Linked DNA regions of Homo sapiens: regions 1 and 3 are each linked to region 2. The links are contacts of gene promoters, found by promoter capture Hi-C in blood cells and fetal thymus (Javierre and others, 2016). All regions are on one chromosome and are shown on one strand. The core of a region is centred on a gene start or on the middle of the fragment in contact, and the rest is flanking DNA. Distances in the headings are between cores, read along the strand shown. Region 1 has its middle 27 kb from the start of EPHB6. Region 2 holds the start of ZYX (zyxin). Region 3 has its middle 34 kb from the start of PRSS2.

Region 1 (2,700 bases), core at 87-2,586, 550 kb after region 2:
CAGGCACGTGCCACAATGCCCAGCTAATGTTTGTGTTTTTTTTTTAATAGAGACGGGGTTTCACCATGTTGGCCAGGATCGTCTCGATCTCTTGACCTTGTGATCCACCCGCCTTGGCCTCCTAAAATGCTGGGATTACAGGCGTGAGCCCCTGCGCCCGGCCATGTGGAGTTTCAATAAACACTGCCAAATTACCCTCCATAAAGACTGTTGCAGTTTACTTTCCAGCTGTGCATGAGAGCATGTTATTTCCCTACATGCTTGCCAACATCAGATACTATTGATTCTTTTAATTATGCCAATCTGATGGGTGAAATGGTGGGTTTTTAAAAACATTACATTCAACCGATCATTAGATCTAGCCTCTTTCTGTATGTATGTTGGCCTTCCTCAGTGCAGGTCTATCTTTTACGCATTTTCTCTTCTTTTCCTATTTCAGAGGAAAAAAGTTCCCCCTTCTTGATGTCCAATAATTAATCCACATGCCTCTTTGTTTCTCAAATATCTTCTTTCTTTAGCATCTTCAATTTTCCTGTCTTTATGTAGTTCTTCCTCTTGGCTTTCTATATAATCAGACTATAAATACGTTGGAATAAAAGACTGTATTCAACTCTACCATTCCCTTTAACCTCTCCCTTACTCGCTCTGCCCCTAAACTTGTCAAATGAGTGCTCTGAATCTGCTACTTTCTCCTCCTCTAGTCAACAACATCGGTGAAGTCATTCAGTCCTAATTTTACTGAATTTTTAAAGTTCTTTTAAATCCTGCTGCCACCTCTTTGTACCCACAGTCTCCTCTGAACTTCCAAGATACCATCCCATTTCTTGTCTTCCCTCTAGAACTACTTTCTTAATTTCTTAAGCTTACTTTTCCCCTCCTTTTACCTATAAGTGTGGATGTTCAACAGTTTTTATTTTTGGACCTTTGTTCCTTTTTCTTCACTTGTTGCTTTGGAGATCTCATCCATTCCAAACATTTCAACTATTTTCTCTCTGCGGATGACCCCTGAAGTCAGTATTTCTAGTCCTGGTGTCTCATTAAAAATCCAAATTTTCACTTGCACTTTTCTGATTGAATTGGACTCAATGTGACTTCAAGGTCAGAATGACAAATGACATTTAGTATCTTCCTCTCTCTCAAACTGAATTCTGTGATTTTATCAACTTTTTTTTTTTTTGTATGTAATGAGAAACAGAACATCTTACTTTCCAAGTAGTGAATTCTCCCTGGATAGAGACTAATTTTGTCTACTGAATACTTTGATGAGTCACTTTTGATGTAGGGGAATAGGTGAGAGGGCAACCTCAGGAAGGACTGAGCTTGTAGAGAAAGAGGTGGCTATGCAACTGCTTTCCAAGTGGTGCTGAGCTGCTGTTACACTTTTGTTTTGCTGGATACACTTTCAAGAGCTGAATTGTCTGGGGCTATAATGAGGATGGCAGTGGCTGTGGAAAGAAAGAGGAGGAAAAAGGTAGCTGGCAACCAGAATGGAAATTTGGCAAAAGAACAGACACGTTTAAGAGGGATTTTATGAGGCTCTGCCCTGCTCCACTGCATGCATGATATACTTGCTTACTTATCTCTCTGGAAAATCTTCAGCACAAAACCTTTTCTTACTGATTGATTGTGATTAATTGCAGTTAATTAGTTAAAATGTGGCATTAATTATTGACATTCTCTTGCTTAAATTTTCTCAGTGGTTTTCTGTTGTCCTAACACTGTATCAAAAATAATTCTTTCTTTTACAGCTTTATTAAAATGCACTTGACAAACAATAGACATCTTTAAAATGTACAATTTGGTAAGCTTTGACATACGCAAACACCTGGGAAACCATCATAAAACTTAATGTAATGAACTTACACATCACCTCCAAAAGTTTTGCTGTGGCCCGCTATTTATTTATTTATTTAAATTTCAACTTTTATTTTAGATACAGGGAGAACATGTGCAGATTTGTTACATGGGAATATTGCCTAATACTGAGGTTTGTACTGAGGTTTGAAGTACAGATCTTGTCACCCAGGTACAGAAGATAGTGCCTGATAGGTAGTTTTTCAAAACACTTCCCCTTGTCTCTCTCCCCCTTCTGGTAGTTCACAATGTCTATTGTTCCATTGTTTATATCCATGTATGCTCAATGTTTAGTTCCCACTTTTAAGTGATAACATGCGATATTTGGTTTTCCGTTCCTGGATTAATTTGCTTAGGATTATGGCCTCCAACTGCATCCATTTTGCTGCAAAGAACATAATTTCATTCTTTTTTTATGGCTGCGTACCATTCCATGGTGTATATGTACCACATTTTCTTGATCCAATCTACCATTGATGGGCACCTGGTTTGATTCCATGTCTTTGCTATTGTGAATAGCCTTGTGGCTTTTTATAATTCCATCCTTCTCTCCATGCTGTTCCCAGACAAACACTGATAGAGTGCTTCTTCTATTACTATAGATTTCTTTGTGTTTTCTAGAATTTAATATAATGCAATTATAAACTATGTACTCTTTTTTGTTTCTTTACTTTTATTCATCATATTATTTTGAGATTTATCTATGTTGTTTTAAATTTAAATAGTTCATTCTTTTTATTGCTAATTTTCCTTTGTGTGGATACATGACAATTTCAGCATTAGTTCGCCCATTAATAGGCAATTGGATTTTTTCCAAATTTTGACTATTACAAATAAAATTGTTAT
Region 2 (2,700 bases), core at 152-2,651:
AGTTCTATGCCCAGTCTCTCTGGCCCTGAGCCCTGCTTTTCCTACTCTCCGGTCCCTTACCCGGGCTTTGAAAGGATCATTCTTGGTCATGTCATCCAGCAGTGAGGACAGAGAGTCGATCTCCAAATCAATACTGCTCACCTTCTCCCTGGGCTAGAGGGTCAGAGGTCAGAGCACCTATTCCATGCCTCTATCCCCCCACCCCCAAGGCAGAGGTGCAGGGGAGGTAAGAAGAAAGGGCCCTCTTCTCCTCTCCTTGGGGGTGTCCAGTGCAGCCGCCCCTCCCAGGCCTCCGTACCTGTGGTGGGGGCGGTATGGGGGCCTCAGGCCCTCCCTCCTCCTCCGGAGGAGGCGGCGGGGAAGGGAAGATCTCCTCCTCCAGAGGCGCAGGGGGAAATGATTCCTCGATCGGGGGAGGGGGCGGCGGGAAGGCACCTCCCAGAGCACCCTCTGCATCGTCGCCATCCCCAGCAAGGGGAGGTGGAGGCAGGGGAAAGTCTGGGGTAGGAAGGAGAAAGACGTCGGCCGGGGTCCCTCTACCCCTCACCCAAGCTCCCCTCAGTTAACCGCTCTAACCCCTAACCCAAGAACTCTCTCAGGGGTCCCAGAGCGTGTGGGGAAGCAAAGGAGGGGCGCAGGGCGCCCTGGGAGTACCAGGTCAGGAAAGGCCGGGCGCACTGCCGAGGAGTGGTGCAGCTCCCGTTACACTTCGGAAAACGGACCCGGAGGGGAAGATTCGTGCCCCACATTCCCGACTCCCACTCCCAGGCGGGGGACTTGGAACGGTCCCAGGAGCCCTGGCTCCCAGCCACGAGCTCCACGATGAGGTAAGAACATCTGCTCGGGACAGGGTGGCTGCGCCCAGCCCCCTCGGCAACAACCTTTCCAGACATCCCCAAATTCCCGAAACGACTGCCCCCCACCCCGGCTCCTGCCGGGGTACATTCCCCAAGCCCCGCCGCATACCTTCCGGGGGCGGCGGGGGAATCTCGCCCACCCGGCCCATCTGTGCGCGCTGGGCCCCGGGTGCCGGGGGAGGCTCGCTGTCCCCGGGCCGGAAGGGATTCACTTTGGGCTTTGGGGCCACCACAGGGCCGAACTTCTTCTGCGGGGCGTAAAAAGCCGGAGCCGAGACCGAAACGGAGATCGCGGGAGACGGGCGGGGGGCCGCCATGGCCGGGCCGGGCTGCTGGGGTGGGTCGCCGGGTTACGCAGCGCGGAGCCGGGCTCAGGAGCCCCAGGCGGTCCCAGCTCCCCTTGGTGACCCCCACTCGCCCCCTCCCGGCGCCCCGCGCCCCCTCCCCGTGGGGCCGCCCTGCCGCTCCCCGCGCCTCACCGCAGGCCGGAGCGTGCGCGCCGCGTCTCGGGTGGCCGCCTCGGCGCCGGGTCCGCAGACTCTGCGTCCCGGTCCGGAGCAGCCTCCAGCCGGGCGGGGAGGGACACACGGAAGGAGGAGGGAGGGAGAAGAGAGGGGGCGGGGAGAGAGCGGCGCCCAGACCATACAAGGAGCGGCCCGGAGAGGGGGCGGGGAGAGCGGGGAAGGGCGGACCAGGCAGGAAACTCCCCCAGGAAGGGGCCCTGATCCTGCCTCAGGCCGGAGGCTCCGCCGAGGTCCGCTCGCCCCCACCCCACTCACTGCCGCCCCCGCCGCCCCAGCCCGGCTCAGACCCCCACTCCCTGAGCACAGGCCTCTGATGTCATTTCCTGACCTGCCTCCCCCTCCCCGCCCGACCCGCGGGTGCCCGAGATCTGACTCACCGTCCCCCTCCGGGCTTAGCCGGCGGAGGTGGGGCGGGTGCCGCCGAGGTAGCCACGCAGCCCCTGTGCGCCTCCGGCCCGGCCCAGCGACCTCCTCTCGGGCCTGCCGTTACCCGGTCCCCTCCTGCCACCACCCGCTACCCGGCCACCCCGAGTCCGCCTGGGGTGGCCGAACGTATGGAGCTGGGCTCCAGGGTGCACGGGGATGGGGGGTGAGGAGCGGGGCGTTCTCCCTCCCAGCACCCCCCAGCTGACTCTGTGCCCGGAGGGGGTGTGTGAGCCGGAACCTCCAGCATTCTTGGGGATACGAACTTCCAACGCTGGGCAGCCTCTTAAGGCTTCTAGGAATTCGCATCCCCAGCGCCCCAGCCAGCAGATCGGTTGCGAGAGGGACCGTTCGGGTCCGCGGGGCCGGGAATGGAGGTGGGAGGGCGGGGCCGAGGCGGCGGCCGCCTGCGGACTGGAGACCCGGGAGGACGGACGCGGACGCGGGCTGCTCGTCTTTTACGGCCCTTCAACGCCCACCACGACCCACTCCTCTTGGAGACCCCGGGCGACGGTGGGGCTCTTGGGCATTCTGAGACTGCGCTTGGTGGAGACCCCGGGCGACGGTGGAGCTCTTGGGCATTCTGAGACTGCGCTTGGTGGAGCCCCCTACTGGCCAGACTGGATTTCTCAGCCTGCGACTCAGCCCCAGGCTACACGAAAGAAGCCAGACCTGGGTAATTCTTCTAGTTCTTTTTTTTTTTTTTTTTAATTGCACTGGGAAACTTCCCCAATCTCGGCCCCAGTTCTTTCTCCAAACTAAGGAGTCATGGCCTTTCGCCCGCTAGTCCAGTATGCACCCGTAGGCGCTTCATTTTCTCTCCTCTTGTCAGCTTTTACTGCCTCCTGAGGCCTTCGTCTTGTTCACACTGAGTGTCCAGTCCCTCCAAATCCGGC
Region 3 (2,700 bases), core at 154-2,653, 580 kb after region 2:
AGCTCCCGACCATCCCCACTCCCCAACCTTATGTGGCCCAGCAATGAGCCTAGTAGTAGGAAAATCTCTATGGATACTGGTGCTGATGGGAAGATTCTTCCTCTCAGGAAGTGATGGTGACTGGGGCTCTGGGATGCTCACGGGAATCCCATTTCCCCCACAAAGAAGTTATTTTATTACACAACCATTTGGATGACCCCCTTTTTCTTCCAATTTCCCAAATAAATCTGTAAAGGTCACAGGTGAAGTTCTTCTCTTTAAGAGCTACTCCATGCTAAGTTCAGCGAGAACTTGGGGTACCCTAGACATTCTTCCAGAGATGCTTTTCTTGTAACTCTTTTCAATAAGTAAGCATGCTTTGCTCTGCACTGGGTGTCACCTGTGTTGGATGCTGTTGTCCCTGCCTTGCCCTATATTCTGTCCACATGGTTTCTTCATAGGATGATGCTTAGGTCAGCCCTGAGGTTTGAACCAGTCAACAAGTCCAGGTTGGTGTGGAGTCCCTTTAGTACCTCCCTTTGCAGGAATAATGCTGCACCCAGAAACTCCCTCAGAGCCTCTCCACTGGAGGGGCCTTGTGACCATTCCTGGTTTACTCCTCTTGTTCCAGCATCCCATGTGGCCAATGGGCCCCTTTCATTTTCAATGGTATCTCAATTCTTACAGTAAGTTATATTATTGCCCTACATCGAACTCATCTTTTCTCAGTGTTACCTGAGGAAGAATGGAGAGGATGCCCAGAATTGGCCCAGAAGAATCCACTTCGATTCTAGAGAAAAAGGCAGGTAGAGGCAGAAGAGATTCACTTCCCAGTGCATGCGTGCTGAATGTTGGGGGTGTTGTTTGAGAGAGACAAGGAAATGGCTGTAAAAACTTGGGAAGAGGAACCTGCCCTGGGTCAAGTAGGGTGTTGGGAGGACCAGATGGAGCTTGAAGCTCTCTCCATCTCTGTCAAGTCCCCTGGACTGAGAGGGTAAAATTCACATGGCCTTTTATCCTCCAGAGGAGAATTCATTCACCTGGGTCTGATTGCAAACTCTAGGGTACTAACAAGAAACTCCTCCCACATCCTCCCACCTGCTAATGCCTCCGTTTTCCACGTCCCCAAGATGATGGCCATCAAACTAACAGACACTATCTTTCTTCTACAAGGTGTTTCCCCCTTCCCACCTCCACTCTAATCTTGCACTACAGCTGCTCAGCCCCTCACAGCTCTGCCCACACAAACCACTATCCTCCAATATCCCCAGTCCTAGCCTGCGCCCTCTGGCCCCCACAGTTCTGCTCTCTCTGAAGTGCTTCCTTGTTCCCTCGGCTGCTCATCCTCCTGTCCTACCTTTGCGAGGAGCCACAAGGATATGCCTGCTGCCTCCACGCAGGTCTAAGGAGTGGGAAGCATGAATGTTGGTCTAGGGCCTAAAGCCTGTCCCCTTTGTTTTAGGCTTTTTTTTAGCCAATATAAAAACAAACCAGCACATATGTAACAACAATAGCCAACAAAATACTATACTGCATTTTGAGCAGTCTAGAGATAGTTACGACTGATGGAAATGACCGGCATGTGATGAGTTTCCTGGGCCCCATCCCTGCTGTGAGCACATCCTTTCCTGGTCTTTGCAAGCTGCCACCAGAGAACCCTCTTCTCCAGTTCCAAGATCCCCAGTGTAGTGGGAAGAAGAGTGTTCCCCCAGAATTCATGCCCACTCAGAAACTCAGAATGTGACCTTATTTGGAAATAGGGACTTGGCAGGTATAATTTGTTAAGATCTCTCAATAAAATTGTTCTGGATTTAGGGTGGGCCCTAAATCCTAAGACCATGCCTTGAAAAGAGAAAGGAGAGGGGAGCTTAAATGCAGAGACACAGGGAAAATGCCATGTGAAGACAGAGGCAGAGATTGCTGCGATGCTGGCACAAGCCAAGGAGTGCCAGAAGCCATCAGACATGGGAAGAAGCAGGAAAGGATTCTCCCCTAGAGCTGTCATACAGGATGACCCGCTGACATCTTGGTGTTGTATCTTTAGCCTCCAGAACTGTGAGAGAATAAGTTTTTATTGTTTTAAACCCACCAGTGGTACTTTGTTACGGCAGCCGTGGGAAACAAAGACACCAAGGCATTAAGGTGTCTTCAGTGTGTTACCATGGGCCCTGCCTGGAGTTTGGGAGAAGCTGCTCTAGGATCACCCAGATACCAGGAGCAATCCCACCATCCTGGTAACTACTTGGAAAAAGTTTCCAGAATTGCCATCTTCAGCAGAACATGCCACGGTTTCACAACTCATAAGTAATTTGAACTGTAATCTTCAGTTTCCACATCTATAACATGGGGAAAATAATACCTGTTCCTGGGATCATTGTGCAGATGCAGACAGCACAGGTAGCAGCGTCCAGCCTGAGGCCTGAAGCAAGCAGGCTCTCAACAAAGGGCTCCCTCCTCTTTCCCAACCTTTCTCTGCTTTCAGACTTCTCTTCTCTCCCCTGACAGTCTTCCTCAACTAACTTCGACATGGCCTCTCTCAGCCCCTCTCACTGTTCTAGGCCTCCTTTTCTTTAATCCCATTCCTCCTCTTCCTCCATGTAGTGTTTTACCACAATGCATTCAGCCTGTATGCAGAATTTACCTTGACAGGATAACTGTCTTTGCCCAAGTAGGAGCAGTTAACACCTTGTGTTTGGAGTGGTTTGGTTTCCATCCATCAAA

Evidence for each region. Contacts are between HindIII fragments. The CHiCAGO score rates a contact against its expected background, and 5 or more counts as called.
Region 1: a fragment that was not itself captured here is called in contact with the fragment with the promoter of ZYX in region 2 in 1 of 17 cell types (activated CD4 T cells); the score reaches 5.4 in activated CD4 T cells.
Region 3: a fragment that was not itself captured here is called in contact with the fragment with the promoter of ZYX in region 2 in 1 of 17 cell types (naive CD8 T cells); the score reaches 5.1 in naive CD8 T cells.

Annotation. Positions count from the first base shown.
Region 1 is chr7:142,826,927-142,829,626 of GRCh38, reverse strand. No RefSeq gene overlaps it. Among named protein-coding and RNA genes, the nearest start is that of EPHB6, 27 kb to the left of the region's middle. The HindIII fragment of the contact is 944 bases long and covers 865-1,808 here.
Region 2 is chr7:143,380,046-143,382,745 of GRCh38, reverse strand. It overlaps ZYX (zyxin), which reads right to left and starts at 1,401. Exons shown (of 10, transcript NM_003461.5): 1 at 1,337-1,401; 2 at 967-1,189; 3 at 299-498; 4 at 61-153. The coding sequence starts at 1,174. FAM131B-AS2 (FAM131B antisense RNA 2) reads left to right here and starts at 1,721. Exons shown (of 2, transcript NR_161353.1): 1 at 1,721-2,480; 2 at 2,637-2,700. It overlaps MIR6892 (microRNA 6892), which reads right to left and starts at 60; the gene lies at 1-60. It also overlaps a transcript of FAM131B not described here. RefSeq lists silencers at 882-931, 962-1,991 and enhancers at 2,492-2,581, 1,705-2,605. The HindIII fragment of the contact is 8,995 bases long and covers 1-2,700 here.
Region 3 is chr7:142,803,364-142,806,063 of GRCh38, reverse strand. It overlaps TRB. Among named protein-coding and RNA genes, the nearest start is that of PRSS2, 34 kb to the right of the region's middle. RefSeq lists a cis regulatory region at 960-1,361. The HindIII fragment of the contact is 5,985 bases long and covers 1-2,700 here.